3 separate regions of the Homo sapiens genome follow, and all the other regions are linked to region 1. The links are contacts of gene promoters, found by promoter capture Hi-C in blood cells and fetal thymus (Javierre and others, 2016). All regions are on one chromosome and are shown on one strand. The core of a region is centred on a gene start or on the middle of the fragment in contact, and the rest is flanking DNA. Distances in the headings are between cores, read along the strand shown.

Region 1 (3,299 bases), core at 749-3,248:
CCTGCACACACCCATGTGTGACGCACGCTCACACACACACAGTCACAAACCCCCACACATGCGCACAGTTCACCCGCACACCTGAACACACACGCGCATGTGTGCTCACTTGCCCACACGCTCACACGCACGCACACACAGCCACTCGCGCGCACTAACTCCCGGCTGCGGGGTGTGGGCCAGCCCTGGACTGTGGACTTCCAGGTGGAGCTTGCAGAAGCTCCAGGTGACCTGCGCCCTTTGTGTGTCTGACTCCCTCAGGTCACTGGAACACAAACCCCACACAGAAGACCACGGCCCAGCATGGAGCCCCTGGGGTCCACCCCCTCCACTTCCGCACACCTGGAAGCACTGCCCCACCTGCCCCTCCAACCACCTGGCCTCCCGCCCCCCCCCTCACCTGGCCTCCCGCCCCCTCCTCACCTGGCCTCCCGCCCCCTCCTCACCTGGCCTCCCGCCCCCCCCCTCACCTGGCCTCCCGCCCCCTCCTCACCTGGCCTCCCGCCCCCTCCTCACCTGGCCTCCCGCCCCCCCCTCACCTGGCCTCCCACCCCGTCCTCACCTGGCCTCCCGCACCCCCCTCACCTGGCCTCCCGCCCCCCCCTCACCTGGCCTCCCGCCCCCTCCTCACCTGGCCTCCCGCCCCCTCCTCTCCTGGCCTCCCGCCCCCTCCTCTCCTGGCCTCCCGTCCCCTCCTCTCCTGGTCTCCCGCCCCCCCCACCTGGCCTCCCGCCCCCCCTCACCTGGCCTCCAGCCCCCCCCACCTAGCCTCCCGCTCCCCCCCCCACCTGGCCTCCCACCCCCTCCTCACCTGGCCTCCTCCCCACTTCTCACCTGGGCGAGTTCTCAGGACTCAGGGTCTTTGCACCTGGGAGCTGACCAGCCTCCGGCCAGACCCCACCCCTGCACCCCTGCTCACTAACGAGGTCGTGGGTCTGCGCGTGACCCTGCTAACGAGGTCGTGGGTCTGCACGTAATAGAGGGGTCTCCACCATGGGCCCCTGCCCGACGGCCTCTTTACAGCCTCCCCTGCTTGTTGCTTGGGTCCCCCGGGAGCTAACCCTACACAGCCTGTGACTCACGCACACACACAGTGGGTGCCCAATCACTGATGAGAAACGCGGGATCTCAGGAGCGTGACCCTCCTCAGCCTGAGCTCCGGGCAGCTGTGGAAGCCAGGGCCAGGCCACACCAGCTGCTGTCTGGTTCCCCGCAGGGCACAGCAGGCAGGAAGTTTGCCCGGCAGCCGGCCCGCTCCCCTAACTAGGTCGTGTGTCTGGTTCCGGCACTTTGGAAACTGGGCAAGCTTCAAGCTTCGTTTCCCCCAAAGGCCCTGGAACGCTCCGACAGACCTTGTCACTGGCCACCGGGCCCCAGAAGTCCACCCTGGACCCTCTGTCCTCCCTGGGTCCCGGCAATGCAGCGTCCACCCCCGAGCTGTGACAAGGATGAGCCCAAGGCAGGGGCCGTGCCCTCTGACCCCCGTGCTCCAACTCCCGCAGGGACAGTCCTGGGCACTCCTGGGCGCCAGCGCATGGGGCCTGCAGGGAGGATCAAGCGGGATGCCCAGCCTGGACTTTGGGGTGCAGGAAGATGGAACCGGGGTCCCCACCTTCTTGGGCCTCCCTGAGCAGCCCAGAGCCCTGTCCCTCCCCTGTGCCTAGAGGGTGGCCTGTGCCAAAGCTCCCAGCAGCCTAGGACACGCACGGTTCCGACTCCACCGTCTCCCTCTCGGCCAGGTAGTTGTGGGGCACATAGCCCTGGGCCACGGCCCCACCCGCCTCGTCCAGCAGCGTGGCCCACCACCACTGCTCCTCCTTCCTGGCCACGTGGAAGACGTCCCCCGCGCGGAAGCTCAGCTCCTCGTCCGTCCGGGACTTGAAGTCCCAGAGGCCCACATACTTGGGGCCCAGGTGAGCCTGGTCCCGGGACACCATGGCGGGCGGGCGCAGCGGCAGGACCAGGCTGTGGCCCAGCTGGAGCACCCAGAGCTGGGCGTGGCAGGCGGGCCGTCCCACTTCCTCATGACAGGCCGGGAAGCAGCCACACCCAGCACCCACAGGCGCTCCAGAGCACCCCGGCTCCTCCTGAGGGCCCAGCCGGCCCCACAAGTCCTCAGGCCCACTGGGGCCCATCTGAGCACTTAGCGCCCGCACTATGGGAACCCACTGGGCAAGCACCGCCAGGGCCGGCCTGAGCGCAGGAGAGGGGGAGGAGGACCTCCCGGTTGGGGCTTCTTGGGGGTCCAACTTATGGACACTCAGGCACTCAGGGAAGCCAACGGCCCTCTGGGAACAAGCCTCGCAGCCTGAGGGCAGGAAGGTGAGGGCTGCAGGCGCTGCCTTCCCAACCCTCAGAGCTGCGGGGGCACAGGTGGGGGCCGCCTCTCTCCCCGCTTCCGGCAGCTTCCCCTCCACCCGTCGGTGCCCTCACCCAGCCCCAGACTCCACCCCTGAGCACAGGGCCCAATGTCAGGAGCTGCTGTGGGCAGGCGTCCTGAGAGCGGCCTCATGGGCAGGCCCGCCCTCGGGTAAGGGCCAAGCAGGGAAGAGGGAGTGGAATCAGGGCAGCGACAGCTGTGTGGGTCGGCCCGGAGGACTTCCCGGAAGAGGAGGGCCCGAGGGTTTTGGGGGATCCCCGGGGAGGCAGAGCCAGGGGCACCCACGGCTGAAGAAACGGGCACTGCCTTCCTCCACACGGACGCCAGGGGGCAGGCAAGGACCGTGAGTGCGGCCTGGAAGCGCCCATGGCGCTGGGGCCCAAGGCCACAGGTCCCTCCCAGGCAGCCCCTCCCGCCTCCAGCCTCTGCCTCCTCCTGTCCAGCCCGCAGGACCCCTGCCCCCTTCCAGCTGGCCTCCCTTCTCCCGACTCATGCCTGAGTGAGCCCTGCCGTGACCCCCACCTGCACCCGACGGCCGCCTGCCCCCCAGCCCCTGAGACTCGGGACACCCCCTCCCTGGAGGCCCCTCCCCGCCCCACCCTCCCACTGACCCTACTGTGTCCACCCGGGAGCTCCAACCCAGGGACCTGGACTGGCAGCCACAAGGGGGCAGGAAGGGGCGGGAAGGGAAATTCAAAGTCTGCAAGGGGTGGTAAGGAAAGTCCCTAAACTGCGTATTTCAACTTTTATTTTTATTGCAAAGAGAAATAATGGCACCTTCCACTCATTGTTTTGAGATTAAGAACAATAATCTGGATTATTTAACAGGCTCATAGATTTCTGGGCAGCCCAGCTCAGCGCTGACCAAGGTGGGGAGGGGCAGCGGGGTGCCGGCCTGGGCAGTGTCCCTCAGGCCCTC
Region 2 (3,696 bases), core at 777-3,276, 270 kb after region 1:
CACGCATGAGCCACCATGCCCGGCCCCAACTTTTAAAAATATTATAATTTTCTCAGAAAGCTAATCAGCTGGCTGGGAAAGGTGGCTCACGCCTGTAATCCCAGCATTTTGGGAGGCTGAGACGAGCGGATCACCTGAGGTCAGGAGTTCGAGACCAACCTGGCCAACATAGTGAAACCCCGTCTCTACTAAAAGTTAAAAAAAAAAATTAGCCTGGCATGGTGACGGGTGCCTGTAATCCCAGCTACTCGGGAGGCTGATGCAGGAAAATTGCTTGAACCCGAGAGGCAGAGGTTGCAGTGAGCCGAGAACATATCACTGCACTCCAGCCCAGGCAACAACAGTGAAACTCCATCTCAAAAAAAAAAAAAAAAGAAAGAAAAGAAAGCTAATCAGCTTAACAAGGCAAGAAAACTATTTGTGTACATTTTAAATCTGAGATACTGCTATGGCTAACTCTGACCTGAAATGGTAACTTCAAAAAAAATAGAACCTAAATAAGAAGGTTGTAATACCTGCTTAAAATAAAGGCAACACTATGCTCTCAAGGAATATGATGGAATCTTTCTCTTTTTTTGAGATGGAATCTGGCTCTGTCACCCAGGCTGGAGTGCAACGGTGCGACCTTGGCTCACTAAAACCTCCACCTCCCACGTTCAAGCGATTCTCCTGCCTCAGCCTCCCATGTAGCTGGGACTACAGGCGCCCACCACCACGCCCAGCTAATTGTTTTGTTTTGGTTTTTTTTTTTGAGATGGAGTCTCGCTCTGTCGGCCAGGATGGAGTGCAGTGGCGCCATCTCGGCTCACTGCAAGCTCCGCCTCCCAGGTTCACGCCATTCTCCTGCCTCAGCCTCCTGAGTAGCTGGGACTACCAGCGCCCGCCACCACACCCGGCTAATTTTTTGTATTTTTAGTAGAGACGGGGTTTCACCGTGTTAGCCAGGATAGTCGCGATCTCCTGACCTCATGATGCACCTGCCTCGGCCTCCCAAAGTGCTGGGATTACAGGCGTGAGCCACCACGCCTGGCCAGGATTGGTGTTAATTCTTAAAATGTTTGATAGAATTCAACAGTGAAGTGATATATACAATCATATACATATATAGAGAGAGACAGAGATGGACTTTTCTTTTGTTGGAAGTTTATTGACTATTGATTCAATTTCTTTATTGAAATTGACTTTTCTTTTTGGAAGCTAAAAAGTACAATAACTGTAGTGAAAGTTTCTGAACTTTTCTTTCATTGGAAGTTTTTTGACTACTGATTCTTTATTTGTTATAGGTCTATTCAGATTTTCTGTTTCTTCTTGAGTCAGTTTGGTCTCGCTCTGTCACCCAGGCTGGAGTGCAGTGGCGCCATCTTGGCTCACTGCAACTTCTACCTCCCGAGTTCGAGTGATTCTCCCACCTCAGCCTCCCCAGTATCTCGGACTACAGGCGCACGCCAGCATACCTGGCTAATTTTTGCATTTTTAGTAGGAACGGGGTTTCACCATGTTGGCCAGGCTGGTCTCGAACTCCTGGCCTCAAGCAATCTGCCCGCCTCGGCCTCCCAAAGTGTTGGGACTACAGGTGTGAGCCACCGCGCCCGGCCTTCAGCTACTCCATTTTTTAACATTTTGCCGCATTTGTTTACATCAAGCAATATGATAGAATCCCTAACCAGTTACTTTTTGCTTAAAAGCTGTACTAGGCCAAAACAAGCGAAGCACCCGTCTGTGTGAGGCAGCGGGTCTGGCTTACAGGCGGCGCCTCAGGGCTCGCTCCCCCTCCGAGCGGGTCTCACTCCCAGAGCGGGGCTCGCCCGGTGTCTGGCCTCCGAGGCCGTGTGCCCAAGTCCCCACCTTGTGCGGCACAGGCCCTTCCCACAGGGGACACTCACGGAAGCTGAACGGACCTTCCCACAGGAGACACTCACGGAAGCTGAACGGACCTTCCCACAGGGGACACTCACGGAAGCTGAACGGACCTTCCCACAGGGGACACTCACGGAAGCTGAACGGACCTTCCCACAGGGGACACTCACGGAAGCTGAACGGACCGACGGAGGTGGCGTGGATGAGCAGCAGCCGCCTGAGCAGTGAGGAAACCCCGCGGACAGCGCGGTAAGGACCCCACCCAGATTACTGGATTTCACCACCGGCCGCCTTCGATGGAGGAGTCCTCAGTCTCCACATCCGCACGGCACAGACGGAGGGGGGGCCCATGGGGCCCCAGCGATGAACCTGTCAGGGGTCCCCTGTACCCTGTAGGCCAGTCAAGCCATCCTTCCCAGCCCTTGCCCCGGGGGCTGAGCGCAGGGGAGGGCCCGGAAGGCAGACGCCACGGAGCCCGGGGCTTCAGGGGGGCGTGGGGCGGAAGCGGGGCCAGGGCGGAGGTCACGGACAGGGTCATCCGGACCCACAAGGAGTCTCAGCCCCGGGCCCGGCGGGAGGGAAGGGGGAAGCCAGGCTCTTCCTCCTAGGGCAGGGCCTGGGCTCCGGGGCAGTGTGACCTCCCGCCCCTAAGCGAGTCCTGCCTCCCCATGAGACCTGAGCTCCTCCAGCGTGGGTGGGAGGCGGACAGAGCCTCCCCCAGAGAAGGCCCTCCTCGGTCCAGCGCTCGGCCAGGACAGGCGCCAAGGCCGCCTTAAGAAATAAAACCAGCAGGCGCGGTGGCTCACGCCTGTAATCCCAGCACTTTGGGAGGCCGAGGCGGGCGGATGGTGAGGTCAGGAGATCAAGACCATCCTGGCTAACATGGTGAAACCCCGTCTCTACTAAAAAATACAAAAAAAAATTAGCCGGGCGTGGTGGGGGCGCCTGCAGTCCCAGCTACTCGGGAGGCTGAGGCAGGAGAATGGCGGGAACCCGGGGGGCGGAGCTTGCGGTGAGCCGAGATGGCGCCACTGCACTCCAGCCTGGGCGGCAGAGCGAGACTCCGCTTCAAAAAAAAAAAAAAAAAAAAAAAGAAAAAGAAAAAAAAAAAAGAAAGAAAACTCCATGATTCATGAGGTAAGACCTGGGAGCTGGCGGCTCGGTGCTCCGGTGCTGCAGAGGCACTCAAGGGGCTCTCCACGTTCGCCTTCCACGTTCCCCTTCGCAGGGACCGCAGCGCCTGGGGCACTTCGCCATGGGCTTGGCCGAAGTGGGCACTAAAGGTGCAGACTCGGTGGAGCCAAGGGGGGCAAGGTCAGCAGCCCTGGGGGCGCAGCCCTGGGGGCCCCGCCGTGGGCCACGCCCAGCGCGTCCAGTCCTCATGGCCGCGTCTATTCCAGGAATGGGGTCCTGGGGTTCGGCACAGGCCTGCTGGGGTGGTGGCCCCACATCTTGCCTGTGTCCCCCCATATTATGCCCAAGGGAGCAACAAAGGCCACCCCTGGGTCCAGGCCTCAGGAGCTCACAGGAGCCCTGAGCCCAGAAGACAGCAGCGCCCTCACGCGGTCCTCAGCAAACCTGCCAGAGCCCAGCAGGTGGAGAGGACTCCGGGAGACAGCAGGAGCTCCGCGACCTCCCTTCCTCTCCCCTCTTCTCCCTTACGAAGTTAGCCGTGTGGTGGCCAGTGTGGCTTAACTCAATGATACAATTTTAAAGATTTCTGGAAAGGACTTAAAAGACACGTGCTTAACTCTGAGAAAAGATTTCAAGGCCAGGCCAGAATGGTGGCTCATGCCTGAAATCCCAACGCTGAGGGAAGCCGGGGCGAGCAGATGGCTT
Region 3 (3,475 bases), core at 338-2,837, 350 kb after region 1:
TGGCTGGCCGTGTTCACGGTGCCCGTGGAGGGTCCTGTTTGCTGGTGTGTCTTGCCCTGCTTGCTCCTCCATTTATGTTTGTAGTGGTGGTGGGAACTCTGACGTCTGGAGCCCCTGGTGTATCCCCATCATCTCCCCAAGCAGTCACAGGTGGTTTCTGAGGTCTGGGCCCATTCACCTCGAGTTAGAGACTGAGGTTGAGAGCTCACTACTTCCTGAAAGTGAAAATTGGGTTCTGGGAGGTTTATGTCATGAGTTTAGGGCTGGATGAACCCCGGCGGACCCCTGCTAACTCTTGGGCGGAAGCCCCTCTGGACAGCTGCCCAACGCCCGTGTCCATGATGGGCCTGTCCCAGGGCAGCCCCGGTCTGTGAGGCCTTTGGTGTGCCCTGGGGCATGGGTGATGGGGATGGGAGGAAGGGAACTGGATTCAGGTCAGAGTGGGGGTTTACAGCAGGGTCAGGTCACCGTCTGACTCCGTGGTCTCAGATGAGGCATCGGCCCTCTCAGGACCTCGGGCGAGTTGAGTGTTTCTCAGTTCTTCAGTGGCTCCCTCCATGTCAGAGTGGGCCTGGCTGCAGTGAGTGGCAGCAGCTGCCCTTGGACACACAGGTTTCCAGGTTGGCGTCTGTGGGCACGGATGGAGCGCAGAGCAGAAATGCTCGGCGCCAAGGGTGTCCCACATCCTCCCACGGTGCGTGTGCTCCCTCAGCTGACGTGATTTGGGGAACACGGGCCGCTCTCGTTCTGTGGAGCTGGCCAAGCCCAGCTGTCATGCTGTGGCACATTTCACACCTTTGCGCTGCTGGATGGGGCTGGTTGTGCTCCAGGTGCTGTGGCTTCTCCAAACAGGTGTGCCTTGGGGCATAAGGCGTGGACAGGGCGTGGACCCAGGGGCCTCTTGGGCACAGCCGTGAGGCTGAGCAGTTGCTAGTCATGATCTTGCGAGAGCCTCCTGTTGAGTCAGGACTTGAGGAGACTGGAGACAGTGCTGCTGTCCCCGGTGGTGTGCGGACTGGAGGAGCCGTCCTGGAGGGTCTTCCCCTGCTGGGCCTGACTGAGCACGAGCAGGGGGCCTCCCCTGGGGCTCCCCGAGGAGGGCTGTGAGTGGGTGCTGGCCTCCCTTGCTTACACTTCGTTTCCTCTTCTCTCCTGCTGCCACCTTCCAGGGCTCATCCATTTTCACACTCCTTTAGGTAAGGCTGAGCCTGGACACACCTGTGGAAGACTTTTCTCTGAATTGGGGCAGGGTGGACTCCGGCAGGGCCCTTGGGCGGCTGTGCTAGTAGAGGGCAGTGAAAGTGGGATCACCCCTTCCAGGACAGCAGTGCCAGCCAGGTGGTTGCTGCATCTCAGGGAACAAAGCAGCAGCGTGGGATCGACGCAGAGGCCCCCCGGAACCCCCCGGCCCTTCTGTGTCCCCTCCTCGTGCTTCCCTTCAGGCTCACAGACCGCCTGCTGCCGGGTCTGTGAATAACTGGCCTGGCGTCCAGGCCTGAGTTTACTCCTGAAAAGGAGCTTTTTTTTTTTTTTAGACGGAGTCTTGCTCTGTCGCCCAGGTTGGAGTGCCGTGGCGCGATCTCGGCTCACTGCAAGCTCCGCCTCCCGGGTTCACGCCATTCTCCTGCCTCAGCCTCTCCGAGTAGCTGGGACTACAGGCGCCCGCCGCCACGCCCGGCTAATTTTTTGTATTTTTAGTAGAGACGGGGTTTCACCGTGGTCTCGATCTCCCGACCTCGTGATCCGCCCGCCTCGGCCTCCCAAAGTGCTGGGATTACAAGCGTGAGCCACCGCGCCCGGCCTTTTTTTTCTTTTTTTTGTTGGAGTCTCGCTCTATCACCAGGCTGGAGCACAGTGGTGTGATCTCGGCTCACTGCAACCTCCAGCTCCCTGGTTCAAGCGGTTCTCCTGCCTCAGGCTCCTGAGTAGCTGGGATTACAGGCATGAGCCACCACGCCTGGCTAATTTTTGTATTTTTAGTAGAGACGGGGTTTCACCATGTTGGCCAGCATGGTCTCGATCTCCTGACCTCGTGATCCACCCGCCTTGGCCTCCCAAAGTGCTGGGATTACAGGCGTGAGCCACTGCGCCGGGCCCTCAAAGGAGCCTTTTCACGTGGGAGGGCTGTGCCGACTCTCACCACCTTCCTGTTCAACATCTGTCCTGTTTCCTTGTTTTCCTTCAGATGGAGTTTTGTCTTGTTTACTACCCGAGAGCCCATAGGTGTGCCTCCCAAAGGGCCCTCCTGCAGACCAGAGCAAGCTCCTCTAGGCCAAGCCGGGGCGCCGCCAGCACGTGCCCTTCTGCTGGAACCGGGAGGTCTAGAGCCAGGCCCAGAACAATCTGTGATTTCTTGTGTTTTTACTTGACTTGGTGGTTTCTCTTTTGCCAAAAGGTCCTTACTTGACTTCTGAAGGCTGTTTGTACCAAATACTTTTCAAAAGCCCAAGCCTGGTCTCCTCACAGCTTCCTATGGCAGTGCTCTCCCCCCTCCCAGTGCTATGCGCTGGGCAACTTGGGGTGCCCCCCATGAGGCCAAGGGAGGACCCTGGGGTCGAGTTTCCTTCGGGGGCATTGTGTGGAGGGGCAGGCAGCTCGCTCCAACTGCTGGGAGTGGGGGAATCCCAGCTCTGCCCATCCCTGCCAAGTTGGGGTTGTGTGTGGATCTTGGTGTTAACTCTTGCTTCCTTCTCTGCTTCTGCCATGCTTCCAAGCAGCAGCTACTCCATCCGCCACTCAATAAGTATGCCAGCCATGAGGTAATGTATGCCTGCTCGCTGCGGCTCCAGAGCCGGGTGTCTCTGGTGGGGGTTGGGGCAGCTCCCGCCGGTTACACCTTGCCCTTCCCATATTCCTGGATTAATTGAGGACTCCATTCCCTTGGCAACCTCTGATGACTAAGGGCCGGTAAAAACCCCCTCTAGGCTGACGAGGAAGAGCTGGTAGGGGGTCAGGCTCTTCACCTGCAGCCTCCAGAGGAGATCCTTGTGTCAAACTGGGCCGTGTCCTTTCCAAGTCCTGACCCTGGCTGCCTGCAGTGGGTGGGGTGGGGTTCGAGGGGCTCGCACACAGATCCTGGCACTTGCCCTGGTGGGCTGTCACTCAGGACACTTCACGGTCTCAGCCTTCACGGAAACACCCAGAGCTGTGGTCCTTATTCTGTGCCTGTCAGGCACCACCCTGATTCTCAGGATTCTGTGCCTGTGCCGTGAGGCACTGCCCTGATTCTCAGGAGAGCCCAGAACTGTGGTCCCTATTCTGTGCCTGCGCCGTCAGGCACCGCCCTGATTCTCAGGAGAGCCCTGTTCTCCTTGTGGGGACTCTGGCTGGGTGTCGCAGACGTGCTGGCCTCTAGAGTCCCCGGGCCTGGGAGGGGTATCTGTTTGTGTGGGAGGGACTGAGTGGGATGGAGCTGGCCTGCTTTCTCCTCTTGTCTCCTTATCACTCTGCTGTCCCAGAAGTGTCCTTGGTCTTC

Evidence for each region. The method cuts DNA at HindIII sites, captures the fragments that hold promoters and counts their contacts. A CHiCAGO score of 5 or more calls a contact.
Region 2: the fragment with the promoter of ZBTB46-AS1 here is called in contact with the fragment with the promoter of PTK6 in region 1 in 11 of 17 cell types (megakaryocytes, naive CD8 T cells, neutrophils and 8 more); the score reaches 7.5 in megakaryocytes.
Region 3: a fragment that was not itself captured here is called in contact with the fragment with the promoter of PTK6 in region 1 in 2 of 17 cell types (monocytes and naive B cells); the score reaches 6.3 in monocytes.

The regions. Positions count from the first base shown.
Region 1 is chr20:63,535,378-63,538,676 of GRCh38, forward strand. It overlaps PTK6 (protein tyrosine kinase 6), which reads right to left and starts at 1,999. Exons shown (of 8, transcript NM_005975.4): 1 at 1,708-1,999. The coding sequence starts at 1,937. SRMS (src-related kinase lacking C-terminal regulatory tyrosine and N-terminal myristylation sites) reads right to left here. Exons shown (of 8, transcript NM_080823.4): 8 at 3,112-3,299. RefSeq lists an enhancer at 2,098-2,187 and silencers at 2,308-2,457, 2,788-3,057. The HindIII fragment of the contact is 2,955 bases long and covers 1,312-3,299 here.
Region 2 is chr20:63,806,050-63,809,745 of GRCh38, forward strand. It overlaps ZBTB46-AS1 (ZBTB46 antisense RNA 1), which reads left to right and starts at 2,027. Exons shown (of 3, transcript NR_110081.1): 1 at 2,027-2,106. All of the region lies in intron 1 of ZBTB46 (zinc finger and BTB domain containing 46), which reads right to left. The HindIII fragment of the contact is 29,160 bases long and covers 1-3,696 here.
Region 3 is chr20:63,884,847-63,888,321 of GRCh38, forward strand. All of the region lies in intron 5 of TPD52L2 (TPD52 like 2), which reads left to right. Among named protein-coding and RNA genes, the nearest start is that of DNAJC5, 8.5 kb to the right of the region's middle. RefSeq lists a silencer at 1,386-1,556. The HindIII fragment of the contact is 6,643 bases long and covers 1-3,475 here.